2 separate regions of the Homo sapiens genome follow, and region 2 is linked to region 1. The links are contacts of gene promoters, found by promoter capture Hi-C in blood cells and fetal thymus (Javierre and others, 2016). All regions are on one chromosome and are shown on one strand. The core of a region is centred on a gene start or on the middle of the fragment in contact, and the rest is flanking DNA. Distances in the headings are between cores, read along the strand shown.

Region 1 (6,647 bases), core at 227-2,726:
ACAGGGAAGGTAGCTTTTTAAGGCTCCAGCCCCTTATTGGCCTCCTGGAGCAAATGGTGGAGGGAAAAGCAGAAGCTCCTGCCGGGGCTTATTAGGACATTGCTTCAGGCTTTCCTCCCGTGCTTGCGGTGATTGTCTGACATTTGTCCATCAATCTTGGTCTAAGAAACAGGTGGGGGAGGGGACAGATGGTTCGCATTTTACTTTAGAGAAGTATCCCTGACACTGACTGATATCAGCTGCTTGCGTTCTCCACTGATGGCCAAAATTAAGCTTCAAAAGCCTTCCTGAAGGACATTCTGTTATCTTAATTCATTCATAACTGGTTATCATGCGCTTTGCATAAACAAACACACTAGCCTCTGAGGACAGAGTGGCAAATATGTTCCCTATGTCCATGGGCTGATTAATCTTGTACATCTCTGGGGCTCAATTTATTCACACACTATAGTTGAATCCCCTGAGGTCCAGGGTTGTGGCTATATAGGTCCTTGGGCCTGACGGTAAGGTAAGGTGCTGCATATGAGTATTCTCTAACCTCTAAGAAAGCCCCAGGAAGGCAGGCAAGTCACAATTCTCTCCTGTGAACATAAATAATCGAGAGCAACAAATGGGGATTGCCTTTTGGGCAAACTGAGTCTTACAAAATAAATACACCATTATGAAGTGTCTACTATGACCCAAGTATCACATCATACTGCAGCAACTGGAATTGTGACTCTATTACTCTAAGACTCCCTGGCTTCTTTTCTCATGGCATGATAGTTCCCATAAGTTTAAACTTAACCATGCCTATTTAGAGGGCAGGCAGTGAGTAATAGCTCTGGAATGATTAAAACCAGTCCAATCCCACAGTGGAAGGGTGTGTGCGGAGTGTAATTCTGGCCCCTTTAAAAAGAGAAGCAAGTTTTCCTTGTCTTTTGAAGCCTGCTAAGTCGTGCAAAGAGGATAGTTACCCAGAAGGGAGTGGGTTTTGATTAGTGAACTGGGTCCAGGCTGCCACAGCGAGGGCCACAGCTCTGGAGGGACTGGCGCGGGGCAGAGATGCCCACAGGAGAGAAAGACGACACTGACTCCACCTCAATGGGTGTTTAAAAAAGGAGGGAACAAGGAAGTCCCTCACTTCAAGGAGCTAGGAGGACGCGAGTCCGGCAAAACGGGTCAGACGCGGAGTCCCAGGCTAAGAGGATCATCCGCCACTCTCCCCGGGAGTCCTGCTGAGAGACTGCGACTCCGGAAAGCACCGAGGGAACGACCCTAGGGCAGGGGCTGTCGGGCCTTGCTCTGGGGCGGAGGGGTCGCGCGGGACCGGAGGGAGCCGGGACGCGGCACTGACACAGGGCCAGGGGCCTCGCGGGTCCGCGGGTCCAGCAGCTCCCGCCGCCTGGGCCTCACTCACCAGCTCATGGTCCCGAACCTGCGTCTGCCGCCGGGGTCCTCAGCCACAACTCGTTTCTCTAGGGTCACTTCCGGATTCAACCAGTCTCCAGGAAGTGACGTAAGCCCGCCTCTCTGCCCGGAAGAGGCGGTTGGGAGGCGGAGCCCGGCGCGTTAACCCTTCTGCTGCTGCGTGCTCGCCGCGGAGTTTCCCTTGCCGGCGACTCTCTGGCTCTGGCCAAGCGCTTAGACACACAGGCTGCAACGGGGGATGAGGGGAACCTCTGGGGGCGTTTTCTGCCTTCAACACTGACTCCTAAAGATCTCTTCACCTGACCATGCAGGGCCCTTAGCCGGGCTGTCCCCTCTGTCAAGTGGTTTCTAATCCAGAGACAGTGGCAGCAATTGTCTGTGGGAGAAGAAGCCATTTGGGATGGAGAAAGTGGAAAACTTACATTCTCTGAATGCTCTTTCCTATCTTTTACAGTTTGTACACCACACATGCATTACCTGTTACAAACAAACGGACGTTTCCCTTCCAAGATGGCACAGGGCTCTGAATATCAATAGATAGGTGCTTTTCAGGTTGGAATGTTTCCTAGAGTTATTCAACACAATAAGACGCAGAGTATGAGTTGTTCCCTGCCTTTCAGCCCTTCCCTTTGGTCTCCTCTACAGGACTCAAATGATGTAAATTGCCCCATTCGTTCTATTCCTTCATTTAACTAATACTAGTTGCACTAATATTAGTGTCAGGTACCGAGCCAACCTTAGGATACAGCTATCTCAGAGAAGTATCTGCCCTGCTCTTGTTCCTTCCCAGAGCTACTTTCCTGGAGGGAGAGACAAGCAGGCAATTATAATCATGCTATAGGATAGGATAGAATGAGGTGTGGTGGCAGCCTAGAAGGGGACCCTGAAGTAGCACATGGGGTTTTGGGGAAGGCTTCCAGGAGGAGCCAGTGTGTAAGCCAAGCCCTGAAGGCAGAATCGGGGCTAGCCAGGTGAATCTGAGATGAGGGGTGACGAGGCTCCAGGCAGAGGGAACTTACCATGGCTAAGACACAGACAGGACCAAGCAAGCAGCTGACTTGCCTCGGGTCTCCCAAAGTCAGAATTCAGGGCCTTAGTGGCTCACAAGTTGCCTGGGATTCTGGGCCGACTTGGTTTCCTCACCGCTAAGTACCTCCCTGCCTTGGAAGAGAGACAAGAAGGCAGTGAGGCCCGTGCAGGTGCTGCTGGGCCCCCAGTGACCTTCTCTCTAGGAATTCTCCTTCCTCAGATGGACCGGGATTGTTTCAGGGACTGCTTAGGGGGTTGCTAATCAATGACCTAGCGGGAAAAATATGACCAATGACCTAGAGCAGAAGTAGTGTATGATTTGTTTTGACCTCCTAGGGTGGAGTAGAGGGCTTGAGCAGGAGAGGTAGGAGGGTGGGCCACAGGATGCAGTCTCTCATTTGTGTTTTCTGTTTCCATTCTTGAGAGTCCATAGTTTGACTCAATTGACGTTTCCAATGGAGGTTGGATCCCCAAGCACATCATGCAGATCAGCTTCATTACCATGTTGTTCCTCAGGAAACAGGCCAAAATGAGCACAAGAGCAGCCTTGAAGAGTAAAGAGGAAGAGCAGAAGTCACCAAAGGGTAGCCTGGGCAGAGAGTGTGGGTAAAGGGAAAGAGAGAGTCCTTGCTGCTTTGCAGAGAGTGTGACGGATGGAAGGGCTGTTGTGGGTTTAGGAGCCTCCTGGCAGTTAGCACCTGTGAATAGTTTTCCCACCTGCTTCCTCCCTTCCCCATGTTCTGCCTCCCTCAGTTATGCCCCACAGGGATAAATATTTCCAAACGTTTTAGCCTAGGTAACTGCTATATCCTAGTAGAAGTCTGTTTCAGGGCTGGAGGGCAGCAGACACATCCTAGAGGACTAGAATGGATAAGTTCTGGACTACAAGTCTGGAGGAGTCTGCGGCTCTATTTCCAGTTCAACCTTTGACACTATAACTGACCTCAGATAAGTCACATCCCCTTTGTGGCCTTAGTCCCCTCATCTATAAGATGGAGTGGGTAGATCACATCCCAAAGTATCCAACATTGCAAGGTTCCAAGTCAGCTGTCTTGTTGACTCTAGAGGCCCTAGGGAAATAGGAGAATGGGAAAGGCAGGTGAACAGAGGGGCAAGCCCAGAGAAGTGGGCAGGTCTGAGGAACTGGTGATATCTTGGATAAAGCTAAATATGAATTTTTCTGGGGCTGTGCTGTTGACAGGTCACCTCGAAATCTTTAATGCAGCCAGCAGGATCTTTGAGGTTACTAAAAAGAATGGTGTCCTCCCAGGAGTCTGTCTGGAATGTGCCTGCTTGGTCTCCTTACCTGTGGCTCATTCGCTCAGCTAGAGGGGCACTGGGCTGAGGAGGGACAGTCAGGCATCCTGCTATCCTGTGTTCCTCCATGAGCCTGCTGTGCCATGAGGCATTGATCCCTGGGGAGCTGAACATGGAGACACACAAACACTTCCCACTGTTGTGAAAAACTCAGCCTGCAGGGTCGGGAGCTATGTCTTTCTTATTTATAACCAAAGGGACAGCATGATACAGATTGATCCTGCCCCTGCAGGGAAGGAATGGAAAAGAGAAAATTGGGTTTCTAAGTAGAAGCTGAGAGTGGAGGCGCTTTGGGTAGAGGTGGATACTCCTGGTTTCAAGCCTTGTAAATACTGATTCTTCCCCAGAAGTCTGAGCCTGAAGGTAAAAGACTGTTCAGGTGGCAGAGGTCTACTTCTGGGACAAAGCTGTTTACGAGGGGAAAAGCAGCAGCAGAACCTGCTCCACCATCAGCCCCCAACTTTTCCTTGGAGGTTTTTGCTCAGAAGTTGGTAAGCAGGTGCTTCCCACTGACTCTCATCTCTGGGATTGTCATGTCCTGTCTCTCCCAGCCTTTCCCACACAGAAGTCTAGGGCTGGCCCCCGAGTCTTTCACCATGCCAACCTCTTATTAGTGAAGAGTGAGCATTCCCAGAACCTGGACCTGGGCTGTCAGGGACTTCATTATAGCACTGGGCTAAGGCTGAAAAACTGAATGTGATAGGGCCAAATTGGTGGGCTCAGCTCTCTTGGAGCCCTAAAGGTCTTGATTCCTCAGGGAGGCTCCTGCAGATATTCAGACACAGGCCTCAGGTTTCTCTGTGGCCTCACTGCCCCACTTCTCCCTACTCTGTACCTGCTCAGTAGGACGTCTCAGAAAAATAGCTTTCCCAGGGCCTTTGGGGGGCAAGGACATAGGAGGAGGAGCAAGGGTGGGAGAAGAAGGAGGAAATCAGGGTGAGATTTCCAGTGGTGGGAGGCCCACACGGACTGCTCAAAGGTCAGGGTGAAGTGACACATCAGAAGCCAGGACAGCAAGAAGCGAGCAGAACCAGGAACGCCTGTCTGACCCGTGGCTCTGCCTCCAAGTGGCTTGAGGGAGTCTTGTCCCTCCTCTGGGCCTCATTTTCCTTGACTGCAATGGGAAAGGTCCAGGTTAGATCTGGGAGGGCGAATGGATATCATCCCATGTGCCAACTCTGATTGTCTGCTTGGAATGCAGTGTTGAGGATTCTGGGGAATCTGCCATCAGTGGGGAAGTTCTATGATTGATTAGTCATGTCTGCCTTGGACAAGAAAGAGCGATGAGATGGTTTATATTCCACTTTATTGTTATTATTTTTATTATAAGTTAACAATAATTGAGCACTCATGACATGACAGGCACTATTCTCTGCAGTTCACATTTAATCCTTGCCTCAACCCTGTGAGGTGGATACTACCATTATTATCATTTCACAGATGATGGCGCTGAAGTATAGCCATGAAGCAATAGTATAGCTTCATGAAGCAGTGAAGTGGGGTTTCTGACCTGAGCACCCTGGCTTTGATCCTTATGCTTTTGCCACTACAGTTTGCCATTTGACCTCCAACAACCTTTGGTTCTGTCAAGGCACAGTGAGGTCAGAAGCCAGCAGACAGATGGAACCAGGAGAAGCACCGCTACTAAATGGCCAGGTTGTGGGTGGAGGGAGGGCCACCCTATGACCAGGGTGCCAAGCTCAGCCTCATCCTGGGAGCTTTTATATGCTTCCTCCAGTACGGAGAGTGCCAGGCCAGCAGGTGGCAGCACCGGGCAGGGTGACAGGAAAGGGCAGCTCCTCACATGGCATGGACGTCCTTCAGGGATCAGAAGGCCCAGATGCTGGGGAAAGCAAGAACAAATGCGGGTGTGGAGGAAGGATAGCCAAGGACCCAGAGGAGGAGGAGTCCTGGCCTCTGACCTGCAGGAGCTGCCACAGCCAATGCTTTGGTTCCACCCAGCAGTGCAGGCCTCTCAGCTTGCATCTCGTGGTGCCTGCTGTGGGCTTTTTTTTTTTTTTCCTCCACTCTGGGAGAATGACTAACTTTAAGGACTAAAAAAAAAGTGTTTTGATTACACTGCCTTTTTACCAACTGGGAGCATTAGTCACCGTGGATTGCTGCAGATAACGGGGAAGGCAAGCAGCACCCCCTCCTCCCCCTCCTTCTCTCTGATTAGCTCACAGAAACCAGGAGGAGACATGAGTGAGGGAGAGTGCACCAGTAGGGAAAACAATCCCCCCGGGTTGATATGTTCCCTGGGCATCAGGCCAAGGGCTGTCCAGGCTGGGCTGCCCCCTGACAGGTAGGCTCTAAGATGGCCCCAGACCCACAATAGGAGGTACCCACTGGAGAGAACTGGCAGTAGGACCACTGAGTCCAAGGCTCCTGAGATTCTGAGTTGGGTCTGGATGGTCTGTTCCTCCAGGTAGCTCCAGGGCACACCCAGAAGGGGAAGTCAGAGGAAGTCACTGAAGACACAGCTCCTGAGCTGGGGCTCAGGATGTCTGTGATGTGGAGCTCATGCCAGGCTGTGGTATGGCTAAGGCCGCTGCCTTGAGCTGGGGCCCTCATGGCTCTACCTGGGGTTGAGACATTCCTGGCAGGTGAGGTTGGTGCTCATGCCCCACTCCCCACCCTTTGGCCTTCTCCCTTCTTCTCCATCTCCATGGGGCAGTATCTAGTACTTTTGGCTGATGTTCCTACCCAGTGCGGCCCTCTTTGCTCCCACCTTGGTGCTGGTGGGGCTGGAGAGCTGAGGTTCCAGTCTAGCCTGTTGGTGCAAGGTGTCAGAAGTGGGAGCTCTGGGCCCTGCTGGGGAAGGCACTGAAGCAGGGAGAAAATGGTGCTGGGTTGCCTGGTTGCTTTGGGGGCAGGCTGACCTTGTCAGT
Region 2 (6,838 bases), core at 1,711-4,210, 260 kb after region 1:
CATTGTCCAACCCATGGGCACCTGGAACAGAAAGAACTTTAGAGCGGCTGGATCCCCTGCAGGGGCCTTCCTGCCCACTACCTGTGCCCCCGACCCCAGGGGCCCACTTGGCAGGATAGAGACCTCTGGTTAAGCACAGGGAGAAGGACAGGCAGCTTCCAGGGCTCCGCAGCTAATCCAGTCCACCACCCGGACACAAGTACTTTGGGAGGACTGGGCCTCTTCCAAGTTGGACTCAATGTACGTTCCTGGCAGAGGCCCCTCCCCTGGCAGGACACAGCTTTGTTGTCACTCTTGTCCTGGCTGCCAGGGCAGAGAGCAGGCTGCAAAGTAGAAGTGCTTATATAAGCTCCTCGGTGCAGCTCCTTGTCCAGTCCCTGCTGTTGGCCCAGGGATGGTCAGCTGGCCAAAGGCCAGCCTGCTCCTTGGCTGTAAGGCAAGCCCTGGGAAGCTGGTGACCCCAGGCTCAGGGCTAGGAGTTGGGCTGTGCCCCTCAGACCGGCTCTGACTCTCCTGGCCCCCATTCTTCCACCACCTGTCTCCACAGCCTGTGAGCTTCCCCAAGGTGGAGGTGGTTGGACACAGTGACCTTGTGTAGGAGGGACTGCTGCAGGGGGTGGGGGTAGGTGCACCCCAGACCGAGGCCAGCTCCGAAGGGCCAGCTCCGAAGGGCCAGCTGAGGACAGAAGGGTGCGTCTGGGTGCACCTTGCAGCTGTGCTGCACTCAGCACTCTCCCAAAATAATCGTATCTGGAGAAGGAGGTCTGGGGAGCTGCTTGGGGCTCAGAAAGGGGTGGCCTGCCCCAGCAGTGCACTGGGAGGAAGGGGAGCCGGGGACTGTCGCCTGCATTCCCTTGGGGAACAGTCCTGCCACCAGGTGCATGTGGGACTCTGGTTTGAGCCTGAGTGGGCAGGGAGAAGAATAAAGGCGGCTTGCAACAGGCTTTCCAATAGCTCTGCTCTCTGCTTCTCAGAGGCGGGGGTGGGAGAGACGTGCCAGCAACTCAGGACTCCTGGCTTCTGCTCTGAGCTCTCTCTGGATGCTGGGAGGCCACTGTGTCTCCCTAGAATGCACCACTTTTCCTTTTCACAAACAAGTAAAATAATTCCTGTCACCGTGGTGCCTTGCTAAGGAATATGAGATCATCGCTGTAAAGTACACGCAGCTAGACCTTTAGAGAAACTACTTTCAGCATAGTCTGCTTTCTGGCTCAATTCCTGCCTCCAGGATCCCAACCTGTAGCAAAAAGCCCCCCTTAGGGGCTACATATTAAACACATTTCTCAATCATTAGGTTCTCTGAAGTACAACCAGGACTCCCCCTTGCCCCAACCAGAAAACATATTCCCAAGATCTCCCCTAGTGGACAGAGTCTAATAGTAGCCTCCTCACAAGATCATTATGAGAATGAAATCAACCAGGTTAAGCCCTCAGTAAGGTGCCTGGCACATAGTAAATGCTCAATAATTTATGAATAGTCTAAGTATTCTCTCACGGATCCATCCATTCATTCATTCCTTTGCAACCCACTTCACTCATAGGCATTAAGCACCTCCCACGTGCCTGCCCCATGTTGGGCCCTGGGGTATAGGTTGAGCATGCAGCTCACAGGACAGCCACAGCCAAGGAGATGCTGCCAGAAGGGCTGCCCAAGACCAAGAAACTCATCTTCCAAATGGCATCCACTAGAGAAGTCTCAACTTTTCTGGGTGTCAACTCCTTTAGCACAGTGATGGCGGCCTGGAAGAAGGGAGAGCCCACAGTGCAGGTTGCTGCTGTTGAGCCCACTTCCAGTGGCGGTTCTTCCTTACTCCACGTGCCAGGCACTTTTATCTCCGAATCCTCATGCCAATCCTTGGAAATAGGCACTATTATCACCCCATCTTATGGAGGAGGAGACAGCACAGTGACATTAGTTAAAACCTGATCTTGGTCACCAAGAAGTGGCAGACCTGGAATTTGAACCCCAGGCTCTGGTTGAACCTGTGGAAACTGGGTTGAGTCCATTGAGTCCATGCTTTGTTTTGAGACAGGGTCTCACTCTCATCGCCCAGGCTGGAGTGCAATGGGGTGATGCTGGCTCCTGCAACCTCCGCCTTCTGGGCTTCAAGGGATTCTCCTGCCACAGCCTCTCAAGTAGCTGGGAGTACAGGCACACCACGGCTCTGGCTAATTTTTGTATTTTTTGTAGAGACGGGGTCTTGCATTGTTGCCCAGGCTGGTCTCGAACTCCTGGGCTCAAGTAATCCACCTGTGTGCTCCCAAAGTGCTGGGATTACAGGCGTGAGCCACCGCGCCCAGCCCAGAGTCCACGCTCTTAACCACCTGGCTCCACTGCACTCTGTAGCTGCTCCATTGCCTCTCACTCACTCCCTCTACATTCCCTTTGCTCTTGGGAGAAGGACCCAGAGTCCTTCACGTGGACCACAATACCCTGCGAGATCAGGCTTTTCCTGTCTCTCTAGCTGACTTCCTCTTCCTCTCACATGTTACCTCTGGCGGGTTCCTCAAGCTCCTTTCTATGCCAGGGCTGTGATAGGCACTGACCCTGCTTCCCACCTTCATTAGGGGGGTAGCTGAAATGTCGTTTCCTAAGAGAAACTTGCTCTTTCCCCTAGGGTCCATCAGATTCCTGTTATAAACAATTAGAGCACTTTACTGCTTTCTTCATTATTCTCATATAGTTGTAATAAATTATTTTATAGTTATTTGCTTAGTGATAGTATCTCCTCATCCCCCCAGCCTATAAGCTTCTCGGAGGCAGCACGGAGACTGTCCAGCATTCTGAGCATCTTACATGGAGTATATAGAAGCTTAATAAAATTCTTGTTTAAGTGCATGACACACGCCACTTCCGTTTCTGATCATCCTCATTTTCACTTAACAGGTCTTAACTCTGTACAAACATCAGTAGGAAACTAATCACTCAGGTTGGCCCTTAGCCCTGGATGCCTTTTGCTTATTTATCTAACCTTCTCTGGCTTGTTTTTGTGCAGAGAGATCTGGCAGAATGCAGTGGTTCTCGGGATTTTTCAAACCTGATCTTTCTCTTGGGGATTTTCAGGACTTTGATTCATACTTGAAACCTAAGATCTGAAAGCCGTGTTCAAGCTTGCGGAGTGACAATTCTCCCTCCCCATCACCACCCCGGCTCCTGGAAAGTCCCATTGCTAGATTTCTTGGTGCCCACCCTTGAAGTCCCCCTCTCTTCCTTCAGTTACCTGGGCTGGGACCACCTCCAGACACCACCATTCAAGCCAAACCTGTGGCTTCCTGAGACACATTGGTCCCTCCAGCTACTGGGATCTGTTGGACCACTGCTGCTGAAACTCTTCACTCCCTTCTTATCCCTCCAGGCCTCCTGTGCCTGACACCCTCCAATCACTGCCTAGGCCTCACTTCATTTCTCTACCCAGACACAGACTCTTGTTATTTCTCTCCCTCCTAAACCTTTCCACATAGGCCCTCTGGAATCTCTGAACTGTAGTGAACAAATTCCCCTGAATTCTTTTCATTGATTCCTAATTAAAAATTAATTGAGATATAATTCACACATAAAATTCACCCTTTTAATATATATAATCCAGTGAGTTTTCGTATGTTCACAAGCTTGTGCAACCATCACTACCAAAGTACAGAGCATTTTCATCAACCTAAAAGAAGTCCTGTACTTATTAGCAGTAACACCCCATTCCTCCCTACCCCCAGCCCCTGACAACCCTAATCTATTTTCCGTCTCTATGAATTTGCCTATTTTGGATGCCTCTACCAACATTTTCCCCTCCCTCTTTTCCAGCCTCCCTTCCCATGACCACTTTCTTGGACATTTTCATCACTACAAATTGCTCCATCCCTAAAATATTAAATTCAAGCAGTTTTTTTTGTTTGTTTTTGTTTTTGTTTTTAGGTGGAGTCTCGCTGTCACCGGGGCTGGAATGCAGTGGCATGATCTCAGCTCACTGCTGCCTCCGCCTCCTAGGTTCAAGTGATTCTCCTGCCTCAGCCTTCCAAGTAGCTGGGATTACAGGCACGCACCACTATGCCCAGCTAATTTCAAGCAGCTCTTCTGATCACCATCTCTTCTCCTTCCTCTACCCTCTTGTTACTTCTCTGCACTTAGTCTTTCATTTGATTCTAAACTCTGGTCCCTCGACCACTCTCCTTTTTCCTTACCTATTCTGACTACCTTCCCTCTGGTACCTGGGTCTTACAAACCTTTGTACTATTCACTTGCTAACATCTTCAATTTCTTCGCCCTTATCTTCGCATTGCAGCTGTTGGATGCAACTTCAAATTTGGAACAGTCCAGTAATCTGGCTACTCCGTCATGCAATCCTGCTCCCACTCTACTCTCAGTATCCTGTGCCTTCTACAGAGCCCAGGGTGGGGCCCAGGAGCCATGGGGGAAAACACTGTGCTAAGTGAAAGCAGCCAGTCGCAAAAGAGGACATATTGTATGATTCCATTTATATGAAATGTCCAGAATAGGCAAATACACAGGGACAGAAAGTAGACTAGTGGTTGCTAAGGCTGGAGGTGGAGGTGGGATAAGACGTGAATGAGAGGTATGGGGATGATAGCTAAAGGGTATGAGGTTTCTTTTAAAGGTGATGAAAATGTTCTGAAATTGCCTATGTGATGGTTGCACATATCTATACATATACTAAAAACCACTGAATTATACACTTCAAAATTTATGAATTGTGAGATAAGTGGAGCATATAGCAATAAAGCTGTTTAAAAAAAGTCATCCTGGGGATGTCAGCAAAATGGATGATTAGGAAGCTCCAAGCTCTTGTTCCCTCATGGAAAGCTAAACACACATATACACACACACACACACCCCCAGAGAGACAGAGAATTGGATGAACTAACTTTATAGAAGCTCTGGAAAACAGCCAAAGGTTAGAGCAGCCAAGTAAATGCCTAATCAAGGAAAGCCTCCTTAACTGCACCCTGGGTGAGAGAAGGAGACCCTGTCTCAAAAAATTTTTAAAAGCCTCCTTCAAAATAATAGGAATTTTTCCAGACACGGTGGCTCATGCCTGTAATCCCAGTACTTTGGGAAGCTGAGATGGGCAGATCATCTGAGGTCAGGAGTTCAAGACCAGCCTGTCCAACATGGTGAAACCCCATCTCTACTAAAAATACAAAAATTAGCCAGGCATGGTGACAGGCACCTGTAATCCCAGCTATTTGGGAGGCTAAGGCAGAAGAATCACTTGAACCCAGGAGGCGGAGATTGCAGTGAGCCAAGATCGTACTACTGCACTCTAGCCTGGGCAACAGAGCAAGACTCCGTCTCCAAAAAAAAAAAAAAAGGTTGGAAATTTCATTTTCTTTCTACCTTGTTCCACCTCCACTGCCAGCAGTATTGGTCTGGAGGAGATAGTAGCTCAAGCCCCAGCTCTTCCTTAAACTCAAAGAAGGAGAGCCAGACCCATCATGTGCAATGCTCTAATCTGTCTGGGGTCCACTTGCAGGAGTAGTCTCTGCTTTGCCTAAGGGAAAAGGGGAAGCATTGCTTATGAAACCAGCAGACCGACTACAGACCTTCAGACACTGAAGACAAAGATTACAGTTGAGACATACAACAGACCATCTAAAGCCCCAAGAAGCTCAAGGAATTTCAAGTAAAATAAACTCAAAGAGACCTACGCTGAGACATATTAGAATCAAACTGTTGGAAGCCAAAGACAAAGAGAGAATTTTGAAAGCAATAAGAGAGAAGACTCATCATGTATAGGGATCCTCAATAAAATTATCAGCCAATTTATCAGCAGAAACTTTGAAGCCCAGGGGGCATTGGGATGATATAAAGTACTGAAAGAAGAAAAGTTGTCAATTAAGAATTCTATGTCCAGCAAAAGTATCTTCCAAAATATTAGTAAGAGAGAAATTAAGAAAGTCCCAGATAAACAAAAGCTTAGGGAGTTGATTACCACCAGCACTGCCCTGCAAGAAATGCTGAAAGTAGATCTTCAGGTTGAAATGAAAAGATGACAGTAAGCTGAAACTAGGTGAAGAAATATATCAAGATCTTTGTTTGAGGTAAACACACAGCAAATTAAAAAGCCAGTATTGTTGGAATTTTGGTTTGTAATTCCACTTTTAAATACAGGATGTCTTAGTCCATTTAGTGCTGTTATAAATGAATACCTGAGGCTGGATAATTGATAAAGAGGTTTATTTGGCTCACAATTCTGCTGGCCGGAAGACTGGGCATCTGGTAAAAGCCTCAGCCTTTTCCCACTCATTTTAGAAGGGAAAGGGAAGCTGGAGTGTGCAGAAATCACACAGTGAAATAGAAAGCAGGAATGAGAAATGGGAGGTGCCAGGCTCTTTTTAACAACCAGTTCTCATGGAACTAATAAAGTGAGAATGCACTCCCCTGGAACTGCATTCTATTCATGAAAGGTCTGCCCCCAAGATGCAAACACCACCCATTGGGCCCCACCTCCAATATTGGGGATCAAATTTCAACATGAGTTTTGCGGGGCACAAATATCTAAATTATAGCACAGGATTTAAAGACAATGAATAAAATAATTATAAATCTTTGTTAGTGGGTATATAATAATGTAAACTCTAACATCGGTAACACAAAATGGGGGGCACGGAGCTGTATAAGTAAAATGTTTGTATGCAATTGAAGTTAAGTTAGTATCAATTCAAATTAGATCATTATAACTTTAGGATGTTATATGTAATTCCCATGGTAACCACAAAATGTATTTATAGAATATACACAAAAGGAAATGAGAAGTGAATAAAACATGTCACTACAAAAAAAATCAACTAAATGTAAAGAAAGGTAGAAATGGAGGAAATGAGGAAC

Evidence for each region. The method cuts DNA at HindIII sites, captures the fragments that hold promoters and counts their contacts. A CHiCAGO score of 5 or more calls a contact.
Region 2: a contact is called between a fragment that was not itself captured here and the fragment with the promoter of BIN3 in region 1, in 4 of 17 cell types (endothelial precursors, M1 macrophages, M0 macrophages and 1 more). The highest score is 9.8, in endothelial precursors.

What each region holds. Positions count from the first base shown.
Region 1 is chr8:22,667,645-22,674,291 of GRCh38, forward strand. BIN3 (bridging integrator 3) reads right to left here and starts at 1,477. Exons shown (of 9, transcript NM_018688.6): 1 at 1,400-1,477. The coding sequence starts at 1,407. RefSeq lists a silencer at 1,177-1,336, enhancers at 1,200-1,829, 1,587-1,646 and a cis regulatory region at 5,336-6,185. The HindIII fragment of the contact is 6,679 bases long and covers 272-6,647 here.
Region 2 is chr8:22,927,700-22,934,537 of GRCh38, forward strand. It overlaps PEBP4 (phosphatidylethanolamine binding protein 4), which reads right to left and starts at 215. Exons shown (of 7, transcript NM_144962.3): 1 at 124-215; 2 at 1-21. The coding sequence starts at 15. The HindIII fragment of the contact is 298 bases long and covers 2,812-3,109 here.